2 separate regions of the Homo sapiens genome follow, and region 2 is linked to region 1. The links are contacts of gene promoters, found by promoter capture Hi-C in blood cells and fetal thymus (Javierre and others, 2016). All regions are on one chromosome and are shown on one strand. Each heading gives the region's core, a stretch centred on a gene start or on the middle of the fragment in contact. The rest is flanking DNA. Distances are from core to core; before and after follow the strand shown.

Region 1 (7,079 bases), core at 4,462-6,961:
AGATAGTGTTAACGTTTAAGAGTTCAGCTCTTTAATAAGCATCAATTCAGACTAATTATTTTAGTAAATCCACACTTGGATGAAAAGCTCCCAGGTAATTATGAAGATAACAGTGATCTATGTCACAACCACTCACGTTAAGGAAACATCATTGCTTTACAAACATAAGCACATGGTCAAGAACTATACATTTTTTCCCCTAAGGAGTTAACTGTGAAGAAAAAGGAGTGAATAGGTGGATAAAAGAAAGTTAACTTCCAGTCCACATTTTTCTCCCAGGAACAAGATTTCAGAAGTAAATGGTACTATCTATGAAGATTTACGTTTGACTCAAGTTTAGTAAGTTTAATGCCGCTTTTGATAAGCAAGCTACTTAATAATTAAATAAATGAAGATAATCTATTCAGGGTGGATCTAAACCACTACCACGAAGAATCTTCAGCACATGGCTGACGCTCTGTTGTGCTGTAAAGCACAGTCTGCTCCACGTGATCATGAAGTGTTAAGAAAATCAGTGCCATGCTAAAGCTAAAGAATTAATGCTGTACTTGGCATCTGAAAGATAATTACTGCACTGAATGAACTATATCCACAGGGCTTTAGATTTTTTAACTTCCTAAACAATCTTAAATTACACATCAACTTGAAGGGCTGAACTAAAGAGTCTAAGCCAACTTTTCCCATACAAAAAACAAAACAAAACAAACAACGTCCTTAAACTATCATTTAGAGTGTCCAAGTTTCTATTTTCTCCCAAAAGTGGTACTCAACTACACTGATTCATTGGTGCCCTCCCATCTGAGATCCCTACTAATGGCAGGACTATCTAAGACTTCTTGAAGGTCATTGGTTCAGTCAAGCAATAAAGCAAAAGTAAATGCATCCACAGTTATGTTTAAACCTTAACCGGCTGGGTGCAGTGGCGCACACCTATCATCCCAGCACTTTGGGAGGCCGAGGTGGGTGGATCACCTGAGGTCGGGAGTTCGAGACCAGCCTGACCAACAGGGAGAAACCCTGTCTCTATTGAAAGTACAAAATTAGCCGGGCATGGTGGCGCATGCCTGTAATCCCAGCTACTCGGGAGGCTGAGGCAGGAGAAGTGCTTGAACCCGGGAGGCGGAGGTTGCGGTGAGCCAAGATCGCGCCATTGCACTCCAGCCTGAGCAACAAGAGCCAAACTCCATCTCAAAAAAAACAAAACAAAACAAAACAAAACAAAACAAACCTTAACCTAGTGAGGATGGATGTTCAACAGACCATTTCCATGTGACAGTATCATTGCTGGGGGAATGGGCTAGGATGTAAGGAATGATCTAGAGTCCTGAACGACCAAAAAATATATGACATACTATTTACCACAGATGGACTCTCATGGAAGGGGAGGGAGAAGGGAATGAAAGAAGAGTGCTATATAATGCCTTGAAAGTGACTCATTCGGAAAGCTCTCTTTGAGCTGGACAACAAGTGGGATCTCAGAGTGAGGAGATGGCAAGGAAACGATTAGGACTTGGAAGAACTGAGATCAACAGAAAGAGTGACAATTTTAAAAAACTCCTATGACTTAGTGAAAAAGACAAAAAGAAATATAAAAGAAAACACACACTTAGGCTGCATGCAGTGGCTCATGCCTGTAATCCCAGCACTTTGGAAGGCTGAGGCGGGAGGACTGCTTGAGGCCAGGAATTCAAGACCAGCCTGGGCAACATGGCAAGACTCTATCTTTACAAAAAAATTTAAAAATTAGCCAGGAATGGTGGCATCTGTAGTCCTAGCTACCAGGGAACCTAAAGCAGGAGGATCTCTTGAGCCCAGGAGTTTGAGGCTACAGTGAGCTATGATGGCACCACTGCCCTCCAGCCTGGGTGACAGAGCAAGACCCTGCCAAAAAACAAAAACATTTACTCTCTCAGAAAGATACCCCTAGTCTGAAAGAGCTTAATGTTCACTTACTAAAAATATCTCATGAAAGTCAACCTTAAGTCTAGGCAAATCCTCCTGTGTCATGCTTCTTTCAGGAAGCCACCAGGCTTTCTCCTTTTGATATTTATGATGCAGCATAGTACTTCCTATAAAACTGCATAAAGTCATATAAATTTGCATTCTTTTTCTTCTGTAACATCCTTAAATTTAACATACCACACAAAATTCCCAAGATTAAAGAGTCTGACAATATACAATCCCATACGATCAACTTAGGCTGCATTTAAAAGATAATTTTTCCTTTGAATGGGCATTTTAGTTATTACCTTCTCAAGTAAAGTTAGCTCAGAGGTTCATCTAGGTGAACGACCAGAAATCAGAGTCGTCACCCTGAGTAACCTGGAAGAAACCAGTTAAATGTGCCATTTCTCATCCTGAAATGAATTATCTCTAAGTCAGGGTATTCAGTCTCTATTAATTGTACTGTCTTAGCATTCAGTTTAAAACAAACAAACAACACACCTCATGACGTCATTTAAGAACACACACAGATGTCTCTTCTAAAGTTATGAGCCAGAGGCCTTCAACAATTTGGTACCACTTCTCTTGGACCACTTCCCTAGCAAAAATATCCAGTGACTTTGGCATAATTACTTTGGCCAATCCAGGGCCAGAATGATCGCTATTCTCTGCCACACCTTTCAGGTACAGAAGTGATGAAACCACTTAAGTAGTTAAGTGGTTGTCTAATCTCTGTATAGTACTATGCACTTACAAAGCCACTAACAGCCATGTCATTCCTTCTAAACACGTTCTACAAGAGGCAACGTGGACACGAGCATCATCCCCATTGACCGAATAACCACCCCAGGCTTTGAGGAGTGAAGTGGCCTAAGGTCACACATCTTTCAGTAAAACAATTGAACAAAATCTTAAATTTTCTCAAATGAGTGCCTCTTTCCATAACATATTAGACAACAGAGTTTGTACTGGGATTTGGGGGTTTTCAGAAAGTTAATGCAAGGAAGGACTGCTCAAGGAGAAGCAACACAATTTTAACTTGGACACTGGCTGCATCTATGCATAAAGGGACTGAGATCTGACTCTTGTCTACTCACCAGCCTTGTCTCCCATCTTGCCAGGCAACCACAACAAATGTTCTTTGTTGCTGTCATTCAGAACCACTAGTGGTGGCCGGGCTCACGCCTGTAATCCCAGCACTTTGAGAGGCCAAGGAGGGCGGATCACTTGAGGTCCGGAGTTTGAGACCAGCCTGGCCAACATAGTGAAACACCGTCTCTACTAAAAATACAAAATTTAGCCAGGCGTAGTGGCACATGCCTGTATGTAATCCCAGCTACTCAAGAGGCTGAGGCAGGAGAATCACTTGAACCTGGGAGGCAGAGGCTGCAGTGAGATGGCGCCTCTGCACTCCAGCCTGGGTGACAGAGTGAGAACTCTATCTCAAAAAAAAAAAAACTACTAGTGGCATCCCAAAGGAGCCCAGTCATCTCAGTGTTTGTGCCTCTGTGCATGCAATTTCCTCTGTCTGAAATGTTCCCCACCCTTTCCTTCTTTGAGCCTTCTTCTACTCGACCTTTATAACTGAGCTCAAATGACACCTCTTTCAGGAGTTGACCTCCTCAATGCTCCTGGAGCACTCTGGACTACCCTACATCATTGTCCTGTCCTGGCTGTTATTCTCATCTGCCCCCTTCCCTAAAGTACTGGGAGGAGGTTGAGGGAAAATAGGAGAGTACAGCTGATATAACTTGGCTTCTCTGGGTATCTGACACACAGATCAGGTACTCAGTAAATGTTTGTGGACTAACCGAATGAACCCACCAATTATCAGGAGAAGCCAAGCCAGGCCTCCCAGATAGAGAAAGAACTTCAGACAACTCAAGTGGAAACTAAGGCTCACTATTTTCACTTTAGCTACCTGGACTTCTTTCCCAATCTGGCATCCCCAGAAGGCCATGAGAACATCATGAAAGCTCAAGTACTATCCTGGAATTACAATCCACGGTAGGTTTGGTGGGGTTTTTCGGTTTTTTCATTTTAATTGGAAAGCCTTTGGTTCTCTGTAAATTCAGAGTTATTTCACATTGTTAACTTGGAAGGCAAAGTGACAGCCACCGTTCTGGAGTATTTCCCAGCGATCAGACAGCAAAACGGTTAAGAGCGTGAACTCTGAAGTCTGGGTTCAAATGTACCATTTGCCAACTGGGTAACTTTGGGTAAGTTACCCTACACTACTTCCCAATAGGACATATAAACTGGAGAGCCTCTGGCCATTCATTCATTCATAAATACCAACTGAGCATCTACTGTGAGTCCGGTGCTAGCGATATAGTGGAGACCCGGCCTTCCAATCTAAAGTACGCTTCCATGGAGTCAGACTGTTCCATTTCCTACACAGCACTTAGCACTATCTGCAATGATCTTGTGTGTTGGTTTGTCTGTCCTCGTCGGAAGGTAAGCTCTGTGAGAGCAGAGGCCTTATCTGTCTTGTGCATCCATCACCTCCCCAGAGCCTCCCACATCACTGGATACACGCAAAAAGAAAGAATGAGCATGTCAGACAAGAACTTTTACCTCGTGGCCCTGGTGAAGGTAGGAAAAAAAAAAAAAAAACAAAAGTAACAACATAGAAAACATAAAGGCACAAATTACAGAGGTAATAGTATCTGGGAGAAACCAGGGTCATGGCTTCCCATCGCCGCAGGTGTTGCTCCAGACAGCTCTGCGGAGAAAAAGGATCCCAGCACCGTGGCAGCCTCCTTGCACCGCAACCAGGAGACAGCATGAGGGACGCAGTGAAAGGAAAATGGGCCCAATCCCATCAGAAGTCCTGAGGAGGTTCATTTGTTGGTTCAACATGTTCATCTGTTGGTTCAACAGGTATTTATTTACTAGGCGTATAATGTGTGCTGGGTACACAGCAGCGAACTGACAAGAGCCTGTCCTCATGCAGTTTCCCTTCTAGTATTGAAACAGTGATTTTGGGTATGAAAAGTGCCGTGCTGACCACGAAACAGTGACGGAATAGGGAATGACAGCAGGTGTGCACGGTGGCTGGGTGGTCACAGCAGGCCTCTCTGAGCAGCTGACACCTCAACTAAGCCCTGAGGTCAACACTGTCACGGAGCAGGGGAAGAAACTTCTAGGCAAAGGCAGCGGCGGAGGCTCACACTAGAGAGGATCACAAACTGGTAAGTTACAAAGTGACAAGTGCCTCGAAGGCAAGTCCCAGGAGGCTGGGGGTCGGGGAGGAGGCGCAGGCCCCGGCTCCCGCACCAGCCCTCTCGGGTCCCGGCCACTCCGGGCAGTTCTGGGGAGCGCGGCGAGCGCCAAGGCCCGGCCCGGCCTCGCCGCCCCCCGCGACAGCGCCGTCGGGGTGGGGACGAGGGCCGACGTCACCCGCCGCGCCGGGCTCCGTCCTTCCAGCACTGGGGCGGAGGCCGCGGGCAGGAAGGTGGCGGCCTCTGGGGCTTACCTCGGAATTTGAGCTCGTGCTGCGGCTCGAGGCTCAGGACCTGCTCCACCTTCGCCATGTTCCTTAGCGGCGGAGCACCTTTGGCGGGGAGACCCCTGAGAGGTCACCGGGGCGGGAAGCGTTAATGCTGCGCCCGCTTTAAGTTTTACAAAAAGGCGGGGACCGGTCGGGGCACGGGCGGGGGTCCTCTACCGGGTGGGCGCGCTGGGGGGGGGTCGGTCTACGCGGTGCAGGCGCAGGGGCGGAGGGCGAGGGCGAGGCCGCGGTGCCCGGCGAGCTGACGGCACGCACGCACGCACGCACGCACGCAGAGTCGTACACACGCACGCACGCAGCAGGCTGGCCCGCTCTGGCGGCGGGAAGCTGCGCCCTGCGCCGCCGGCTCCAGGGGCGGGGACTAAAGCTGCGCGCGTAGAGCCCCTTCCGGGACAGTGCGCAGGCGCGGCACAAGCCACGGGGGCGGGACTGCGGGGCAGTAAGGGGCGGGGCTTCGGGCCGCTCAGGAGGCGGGGTCTGTAGTCCAGCTACGACAGCCACCGCGGAAACTATTAAGGGCCCGCTGGGGGCCAGCTTCGTGTTAAGTGCTTTATTCAATAATAACAATTAGAATAAACTTCCACTTTTCTCTTGCTTATGTAGTGCCAGGCACTGTTAGAGACTTTGAATAATAGTGAAAGTACTTAGTATAAGTATAATGTTTATGGGTGAGTGATATGGGCTAGGCACTGTGACGTCTTGTAAATAATAATTATAAATATAATAAACTACCAATTATTGCTTATTTATTTTGTATCACTCTACTGAATGCTTCCAATAACAACAGCAACTACAATAAATACAAGCTACTCTACGTTAAATGTTTACTATGCAACTGGCACTGTGCTGAATTCTTTACTAGTAAATTCTATTTGTTTATGCAACAAATATTTAGAAATACAATGATCAGAAAAGCGAACCTGATTCCAATCCTTTTACTATAGCCTAGTGAAGAGACATCTTTTGAATAAATAACCACACACGTAAGTTAAATAATTAAAAATTGCTGGAGAATCCAGATCTGCTTGACCTCAAAAGTGGATACTCTACATCATGATTACCGTTTAAATTGTATTTCATTATATTATGTTTACTATGGAAGTTAAATAGGTGTTCTTAATAGTCTCCTATACATACCCATATAGGTGAGACAAATGTGGCAAATTGCTAGCAATGGCTGACTCTACATCGCAGGTATATGGTTTTCTTGTACTGTTTCTCCCACTTTGCTGTATACTTGAAATTTTTCATGATAAAAAGGTTTTTTAAAAGAATAGTCTTTGTATTTTAACTGGAGCATTTAGTCCATTTACATTTATTATATTTACTGATATATCTGGAATTATTTCTACCATTGTATTTTGTTATTTCTATTTGTCCTGCCTGGTTTTTTTCCCCTTTCCTTTCTTCTTTAGGGTTTATTTTTATTCTCATTCTGATTTTCTTCACCTGTATACTCTATTTCTAAGTTTTAGTGGTTACTTCAAACTTTTGGGCATGCATACTTACCTTGTGAAAGTCCAATATCTTTAAATATTTGTAAAAATGTCTTTACCCTGTTTCCTTAAAATATAAAGACTTTGGAGTACTTTAATCACCCATCCTCTAAATTATACACCTT
Region 2 (7,573 bases), core at 2,234-4,733, 590 kb before region 1:
CTCTTAAGCTCCAGACTCAGGTATCCAACATTCCATTCTCATTTCCAGTCAGATGTCTCACAAGTATCCAAACTCTTTAGGTCCAAAACTGACATCTCTTCCCTAGAAACAGATCTTCTTCCTACAACCCATATTTCCGTAAAGGTATCCTTCATATATCTACTTGTTACCCCCCAAACCTGAAAATCATCCTCAGCTTCTCTCCCTCACCCCACCCCCACATCCTGTCACAAAGACTCATCAGTTCCATCTCCCATCTGTCTATCCAAGGTGGTCCTTCTTTCCACATTTGCCTCTGCTCTTCCTTATTTTTTGTATGCTTGCAGTAGCAACATTCCCCTGAAGTCTCAGTCTTATTCCTTCCTTTCAATCATCTTTCACACCGTGGCCACAGTGATCTTTGTAAGCCACAAAACTGACGTCTCTCTCCTGCTTAAAGATTCCCATCTCCTTCAGGAAAAAACGCCCCAGCTCTAGCAAGAGCGTGCCCTTCCCACTTCCCCTGTCCGTTCTGACCTCTCACCACTCCCCATTTGCAATCTGTAGCAGGACTCATCTATTTGCATGTCTGCAGCTCTTAGTTTCCACCATCCAGACTGAACATCACGGTGGCCTCCTTACACATCTTCCTACCTCCCACTATGTAACATGGCATCAGGCGAACAGAATTTGGGTCACCAACTATCTTTTAAAATCCAGTTCTTGCCACCCTCCTAACACCTTTCCTAACTTTCTGTACCTCTTCCAAGCAGAGTCACAGAATAAACATGAAATGAACGTCTGGTCCACCCCCCTCATCCATGAGAGCCCACTGGTGTCAGTGGGCCAAATTAGGATCATGATTAAAATTCCCCAAACATGAGACTCCCCAATCTCCCATCAGTGGGGTCTAGGTCTGACTGCACAAACTTGGGCAAATAACTCACGTGCTTGGTCTATAAAGTGAAGGTACTGATTAGATGGCCCTTATATGCCCCAGTTCTAACACTTTATGACTCAAAGCCTCAAGGTGAGGCCGGGCACGGTAGCTCACACCTGTAATCTCAGCACTTTGAGAGGCGGAGGCGGGCAGATTACTTGAGGCCAGGAGTTCGAGACCAGCCTGGCCAACATGGTGAAACCACATCTCTACTAAAAATACAAAAATTAGCCGGGTGTGGTGGCACCGGCCTGTAATTCCAGCTACTTGGAGAATCACTTGAACCCAGGAGGTGGAGGTTGCAGTGAGCCAAGATGGCACCACTGCACTCCAGCCTGGGTGACAGAGTGAGACTCCGTCTCAAAGAAAAAAAAAAAAAAAAAAGGCCGGGTGCGGTGGCTCACGCCTGTAATCCTAGCATTTTGGGAGGCCGGGGCAGGCGGATCACCTGAGGTCAGGAGTTCAAGACTAGCCTGGCCAACGTGGTGAAACACTGTCTCTACTAAAATACAAAAATTAGCCGGACATGATGGCGGATGCCTGTAATCCCAGCTACTCAGGAGGCTGAGACGGGAGAATTGCTTGAACCCAGGAGATGGCAGTTGCAGCGAGCTGAGATCAAGCCACTGCACTCCAGCCTGAGCAGCTAAGCGAGACTCTGTCTCAAAAAAAAAAAAAAAGAAAAAAAGGCTCAAGGTGATATACTAGATGCCCCAAACACCAACCTACCACTAAGCTAATTCACACCTTCTCATCTGGACCACTTTGGTAGTCAGCAATTTGACGAAGTGGCAACGGAGGCAAAGGATGTGGGTTTGGGTCCCCTCTCCTTCCTTTATTAGTTTCATGACCTTGGGCAGGTCAGTAAGTCTTTTCGTCTCATTTTCTACACTTACCAGATAAGTAGGGTAACACCCAACTCAAAATCCTGTGTGTGGAAGGGGATAACGCATGACACACATGGCCCAAGCTCTCAGTTAGCTAAGTCTGACTCTATCCACTCCACCCTAAGCCTCCAACACTGTGAAATGATCCAACATGCAAATCTACTCGTGTCACTCCCTGCCCCAAACTCCTGAACAAGCCATACCATTCAGCAGCTCTCCAAGGATCTTCAGAACCTGCTCCCTACTGACCTCCTGCCACTGCTTCCACCAGGCAGCTAACATCACAGGGCTTCTTTCAGTTCCAGAAACACATCGCCCGCCTTGGCATTTTAGACCATGGCTCCGAAGCCGCCATCACACCACCACCCATGTTTATCAACGTAAGCCCCACTTCATCCTTTATTCCCTTATAATACCACTTCAAAATGCACCAGACATCCCCAATCTTGATTGTTGTTAAAAATGCAAGTTCCTGGGCCACGAGCAGTGGCTCACGCCTGTAATCCCAGTACTTTGGGAGGCAGAGGTGGGTGGATCACCTGAGGTCAAGAGTTTGAGACCAGCCTGGCCAACAAGGTGAAACCCCCTCTCTACTCAAAATTTTAAAAATTAGCTGGGCATGGTGGTGGGTGCCTGTAATCCCAGCTATTCGGGAGGCTGAGGCAGGAGAATCGCTTGAATCCGAGAGGCAGACGTTGCAGTGAGCCGCGATGGCGCCATTACACTCCAGCCTGGGCAACAAGAGCGAAACTCCACCACAAAAAAAAAAAAAAAAAAAAAAAAAAAAAAAAATGCAAGTTCCCAGGCTCCCGTCCAGACCAACTGTTGGGCCGTCTCCAGGGGAGGGACGTGAGAAGCTACATTTCAATCATGCGCCTCAGTTGGGTCTTTAGAGTAAGGTGGGGACACACTGTCCAGACTAGAGCTACCTGCCCTGGCTCTGCAGTCCCTGTCCTCAGGGTGGAACAGTGATCCCTCCTGGGCTTCCACCCCAAACCCTGGAAGGTCAAGGCCCGAAAATCCTTTCCATCAGTTTGCCCAAAAACAGATGAAATCAGCCCAAGGTGCTGAAGAGTACAGTTTATAAAACAGTAAAGCACATGTAGGAATGCCCTAAGTTCTACTTTTTCCTCATGATGCTGCTGTGAAGTTTTTCCACTTTATTTTTGTTTAAAAGTCTGTGAGCTCCGGACCCAACCCTCCACCTTAGCGTTGGTGTCCCGCCCGCCGCGGGGGTCGCAGGGCCGGCGCCGGGCCTGGCCGGAGCGAGGGGGTACTGGGGGCCTCGGGCCGCCCCGCGCCAGAGCCTCCGGCGCCTCACCCCCACCCCAAGGTCCTGCAGGCGAGGAGGCGGGGACCCCGGCGGCCGCGCCGCGGGACCCCGGGCGGGCGGGGGCGGGGCGGGCTGTGCTTGAACCACACGGTGACCGCGCGGGCCGTGCGCGCGCACACCCCCCGCACGCCCGCAGCCTCGCGCCGCGCGGCCTCTCCGGGAGTGGGGCCGGCCCGCCGGCGGCGGAGACGAACGATTCTCTCTAGGGTGCGCCCAGTGCCCCGCCTCACCTGGCCGCCGTCAGCCTCGTCGCCCCACTCGGCCGCGCTCCCGTAGTAGTCCTCGTCCATGATGGCGCCCGGCACGGCCCCCGCCATGCCCTCCCGCGAGCGAGCGCGGCGCATGCGCGAGGCGGGGACGGGCGGGCGGGCGCACGCGCGGCCGCGCGCCTCGGCCCGGGCGGGAGGCGGGGCCTGGAAGAAGGGGCGGGGCCTGGAGGAAGGGCAGGGCCGCGGGCTCGGCACTGGGAACAAAGGGGACCGGCGGAAGGAACGCCCCCAGTCGATCCCGGAGCGATGCCCGGGTGGACCAGGGGCTTAGCTCCGGAGAGAGGTTTCCCACTGGATTCGTGCACAGCCCCTCCCCTGCGGCGCCGGCTCTGCGAGCCCCAGTTTCCTCATCTGGCAGCTGGAAACAAATCCTTCCGGAAGTGTCCAGGACCCACGAAAGTGTTTTAATTTCTTTTAGTTTTGGTAAAAAGTACTAAACGCGACCGGGCGTGGGGGCTCACGCCTGTAATCCCAGCACTTTGGGAGACCGAGGCTGACGGATCACTTGAGGTCAGGAGTTCGAGGCCAGTCTGGCCAACATGGTGAAACCCCGTCTCTGCTCAAAATACAAAAATTAGCCGGGCGTGGTGGCATGCGCCTGTAATCCCAGGTACTCGGGTGACTGAGGCAGGAGAATCGCTTGAACCCGGGAGGCGGAGGTTGCAGTGAGCCAAGATCGCACCATTGCACTCCAGCCTGAGCGACAGAGCGAGACCCTATCTCAAATAAATAAATACATACATAAAAAGGGCAGGGCACGGTGGCTCACGCCTGTAATCCCAACACTTTGGGAGGCCGAGGCGGGCGGATCACCTGAGGTCAGGAGTTCGAGACCAGCCTGGTCAACATGGTAAAACCCCTTCTCTACTAATAACACAAAAATTAGCTGGGCATGGTGGCGGGCGCCTGTAGTCTCAGCTACTCAAGAGGCTGAGTCACGAGAACCGCTTGAACCCAGGAGGTGGAGGTTGCAGTGAGCCAAGATCACACCACCGCACTCCAGCCTAGGCAACAGAGTGAAACTGTGTCAAAAAAAAAAAAAAAAAGAAAAAGAAAAAGAAAGAAAGAAGAAAGAAAGAAAAGAAAAGAAAAAAGAAAAGAGAAGAAAAAGTACTGAATGCAGTGGAAAGTAGCATTTTTAATTTTTTATAAAGTGGAAGATAGGCCCACAAAGCAAAAGTGCCCAGAGCTGACAAAAATCTCTGGAGAAAGGACCTCTCTGGTCGTTGCCAAAGGGAGCAGCTGACGCTGTTGTAAAGCCCGCAGCTCGATTCCCAGCGTGAAGTAGGGGGTGAGAATATGACAGCCTCCTGATGATCACGGAAAGGTTTTTGTTTGGTTGTTGTGTTTTTGTTTTGTTTTAATTTTAGATTCGGTGCGTGTGCAGGTTTGTTACATTGGTATATTGCGTGATGCTTCTAATCCTTTCGGCAACTTTTTCAGCCTTTACCCCCCTCCACACCTTCTGCCTTTTGGAATACCCCATGTCTGTTGTTCCCATCTTTGTGTCCAAATCACAGAAAATTTTAAACAGGGAGATTAACGCCATAAAATCTGGATGCTTTGAAAGGTAACGCCCGTGGCTGAGCGCCGCGGCTCACACCTGTAATCCCAGCACTTTGGGAGGCCAAGGTGGGAGGATTGCTTGAGGCAAGAGTTTGAGACCAACCTGGGCAACATAGCGAGACACCGCCCCCCCCCTTCCCCCGCCCCCAGCCAGGTATGGTGATGCACGCCTGTAGTCCTAGCTGCTCGGGAGGCTGAGGCAGGAGGATTGCTTCAGCCCAGGAGTTTGAGGTTACAGTTTGCTATGGTCGTGCCATTGCATTTCAGCCTGTGTGACAAAGTGAGACCCTGTCTATAAAGAAAAAAAAGAAAGGTAATGCCCATGTCAGTAAGGAAAGAGTATTAGAGAAAAGAGCTCCAGAAGATTGATAATAGTGACTACTTTTGGAGAACTTATCAGGGAATATGTCTTCATTTATTCAACAAATGTTTATTGAGTGTTCCCTAAGTGCCCAGCACTGCGCTGCTCCCTGGAGCTCGGTGAACAAGTTGGACCTGATCCTTGTCCGGGTAGAGCCTACATTCTACTGAAGGAGCTGAATGGGGGGAGGGGGTGGGGGGAACAAATAAGATAAAGACAGAAGGTGATCAGTGCTAGTATTCTGTGATAATAGAATCTTCTTGGGGAGATCAGAGATGGCTGCTGAGCAGCTTACATTTGAACTGAGTCATGTCATGAAAGGGGCAAGCTAGCTAAGACCCAGGCAAGAGCATTTCCAGAGAGCAGAACTGCCAGGGCAAAGGCCAGGCATGCGTACTTGGAACAGAAAGGCCACTGAGAGCGGCACCTGGCAGGCCAAGGAGAAATCTAGATGAGGTGGGCAAGGCAGGGAGGGCCAGATCTTGGGAGGGAGTTAGGTCTGTATTAACTGAGGGCCATCTCTAAGGATTGAATGTAATGAGGTATGCCAAGCACTGAGCAGAGAGCTTGCACATGGTAGGTGCTCAGCAAGTATGCATCATTATGAGGAAGATGAAACGTTTGGATTTTTTTTTTCTTGCTCTGAGCGGGTGAAAGGACATATCTGAATTTTCAAAGGCATTTCTCCTAGCTGAGGGGGCCTTACAGAAGGAAGTGAGAAGGTGAGAATGTAAATTAAGAAGCTTCCGTGAGCATTAATGGAGGGGGTTGCTGAGAAGGAGCTGTGGCTAACTGCTGTGAAGTTGGGGTCAAGTCCAGAGGATACAACAGCCTTGGGGGTGGGAGATGGGGGCCAGGAACAGGGGCAGGGAAGATGCTGCTGTGACCCCCAGCTTGTGTGCCTGGGGATGGCCCATGGCTGAGACAGGGAACCCAGGAGGAGGGCAGGTTTCTCCATGGGATGATAATGAGTTCATTGGGTTGTGCTGAGTTAGAGGTGCCAACAGAACACCCATGCGGAGATGTCCTGCAGGTGGTTGGAGGTGGAAGTCTGCAGCTCCGATTCAAAGGATCCAGCTCCAGCTTCTATTCACAAGATTAAAGTGTATTAAGTTAATGAGTGCCCCTGCTGTTGGCTTGTTTCAGGGTTCATTTTCACTTGCTTTCTCAAAATGTTGGAAAGAATAGATGGCTGTTAAACTCCTCCTACCTCTCCTCTTAGATTTTTTAAAAAATAGTGCCAGAATTGAAAGCGGACCAATTAATGTATGTATAACTAATTGTGCCTACGGAATTGGGGATTATTCAGCTCACTTCTCCTTCAACCAACAGGTTGGTTAATCCATTTATTGTTAAATGGATTAACAACCCGTAATGAAACCATTACATTCAGCCTATAAGTCACAATGATTTAAAAGTAATTGGGTCAGCCGGGCGCAGTGGCTCAGGCCCGTAATCCCAGCACTTTGGGAGGCCGAGGCGGGTGGATCACGAGGTCAGGAGATCGAGACCATCCTGGCTAACACGGTGAAACCCCGTCTCTACTAAAAATACAAAAAAATTAGCCGGGCATGGTGGCAGGCGCCTGTAGTCCCAGCTACTCAGGAGGCTGAGGCAGGAGAATAGTGTGAACCTGGGAGGTGGAGCTTGCAGTGAGCCGAGATCATGCCACTGCACTCCAGCCTGGGTGACAGAGCGAAACTCTGTCTCAAAAAAAAAAAAAAAAAAAAAAGTAGTTGGGTCTATAGGTCTTGCCTCCTGAGATATTGTGGATCTGTTGTTTTTTCCAAAGCCTTGTCTAGATTGTCCAGATTAGCTTGCATTGCTTAAATACTCCTAAAGTCATTTAAGTTCTAAAGTCATTTTCCTGTTTAAGAAGAATTCTGGGCCGGGTGCGGTGGCTCATACCTATAATCCCAGCACTTTGGGAGGCCAACACAGGCAGATCACTTGAGGTCAGGAGTTTGAGACCAGCCTGGCCAACATGGTGAAACCCCGTCTCTTCTAAAAATACAAAAATTAGCCAGGTGTGGTGGCGGGTGCCTGTAGTCCCAGCTACTTGGGAGGCTGAGGCAGGAGAATCGCTTGAACTTGGGAGGCAGAGGTTGCAGTGAAGTGAGATCACACCACTGTACTCCAGCCTGGGTGACAGAGCAAGACTCTGTCCCCTGACCCCCACCAAAAAAAAAGAAGAAAAAGAAGAATTCTGGTGGAGAATTTTTATGAAAATTAGAAGTT

The links. Contacts are between HindIII fragments. The CHiCAGO score rates a contact against its expected background, and 5 or more counts as called.
Region 2: a contact is called between the fragment with the promoter of NELFCD here and the fragment with the promoter of VAPB in region 1, in 6 of 17 cell types (monocytes, naive CD8 T cells, non-activated CD4 T cells and 3 more). The highest score is 7.8, in monocytes.

Annotation. Positions count from the first base shown.
Region 1 is chr20:58,387,861-58,394,939 of GRCh38, reverse strand. VAPB (VAMP associated protein B and C) reads right to left here and starts at 5,711. Exons shown (of 6, transcript NM_004738.5): 1 at 5,423-5,711. The coding sequence starts at 5,480. RefSeq lists silencers at 5,183-5,302, 5,563-6,002. The HindIII fragment of the contact is 12,509 bases long and covers 1-7,079 here.
Region 2 is chr20:58,977,166-58,984,738 of GRCh38, reverse strand. NELFCD (negative elongation factor complex member C/D) reads right to left here and starts at 3,483. Exons shown (of 15, transcript NM_198976.4): 1 at 3,370-3,483. The coding sequence starts at 3,429. RefSeq lists an enhancer at 2,725-3,225 and a silencer at 3,148-3,627. The HindIII fragment of the contact is 8,660 bases long and covers 1-6,080 here.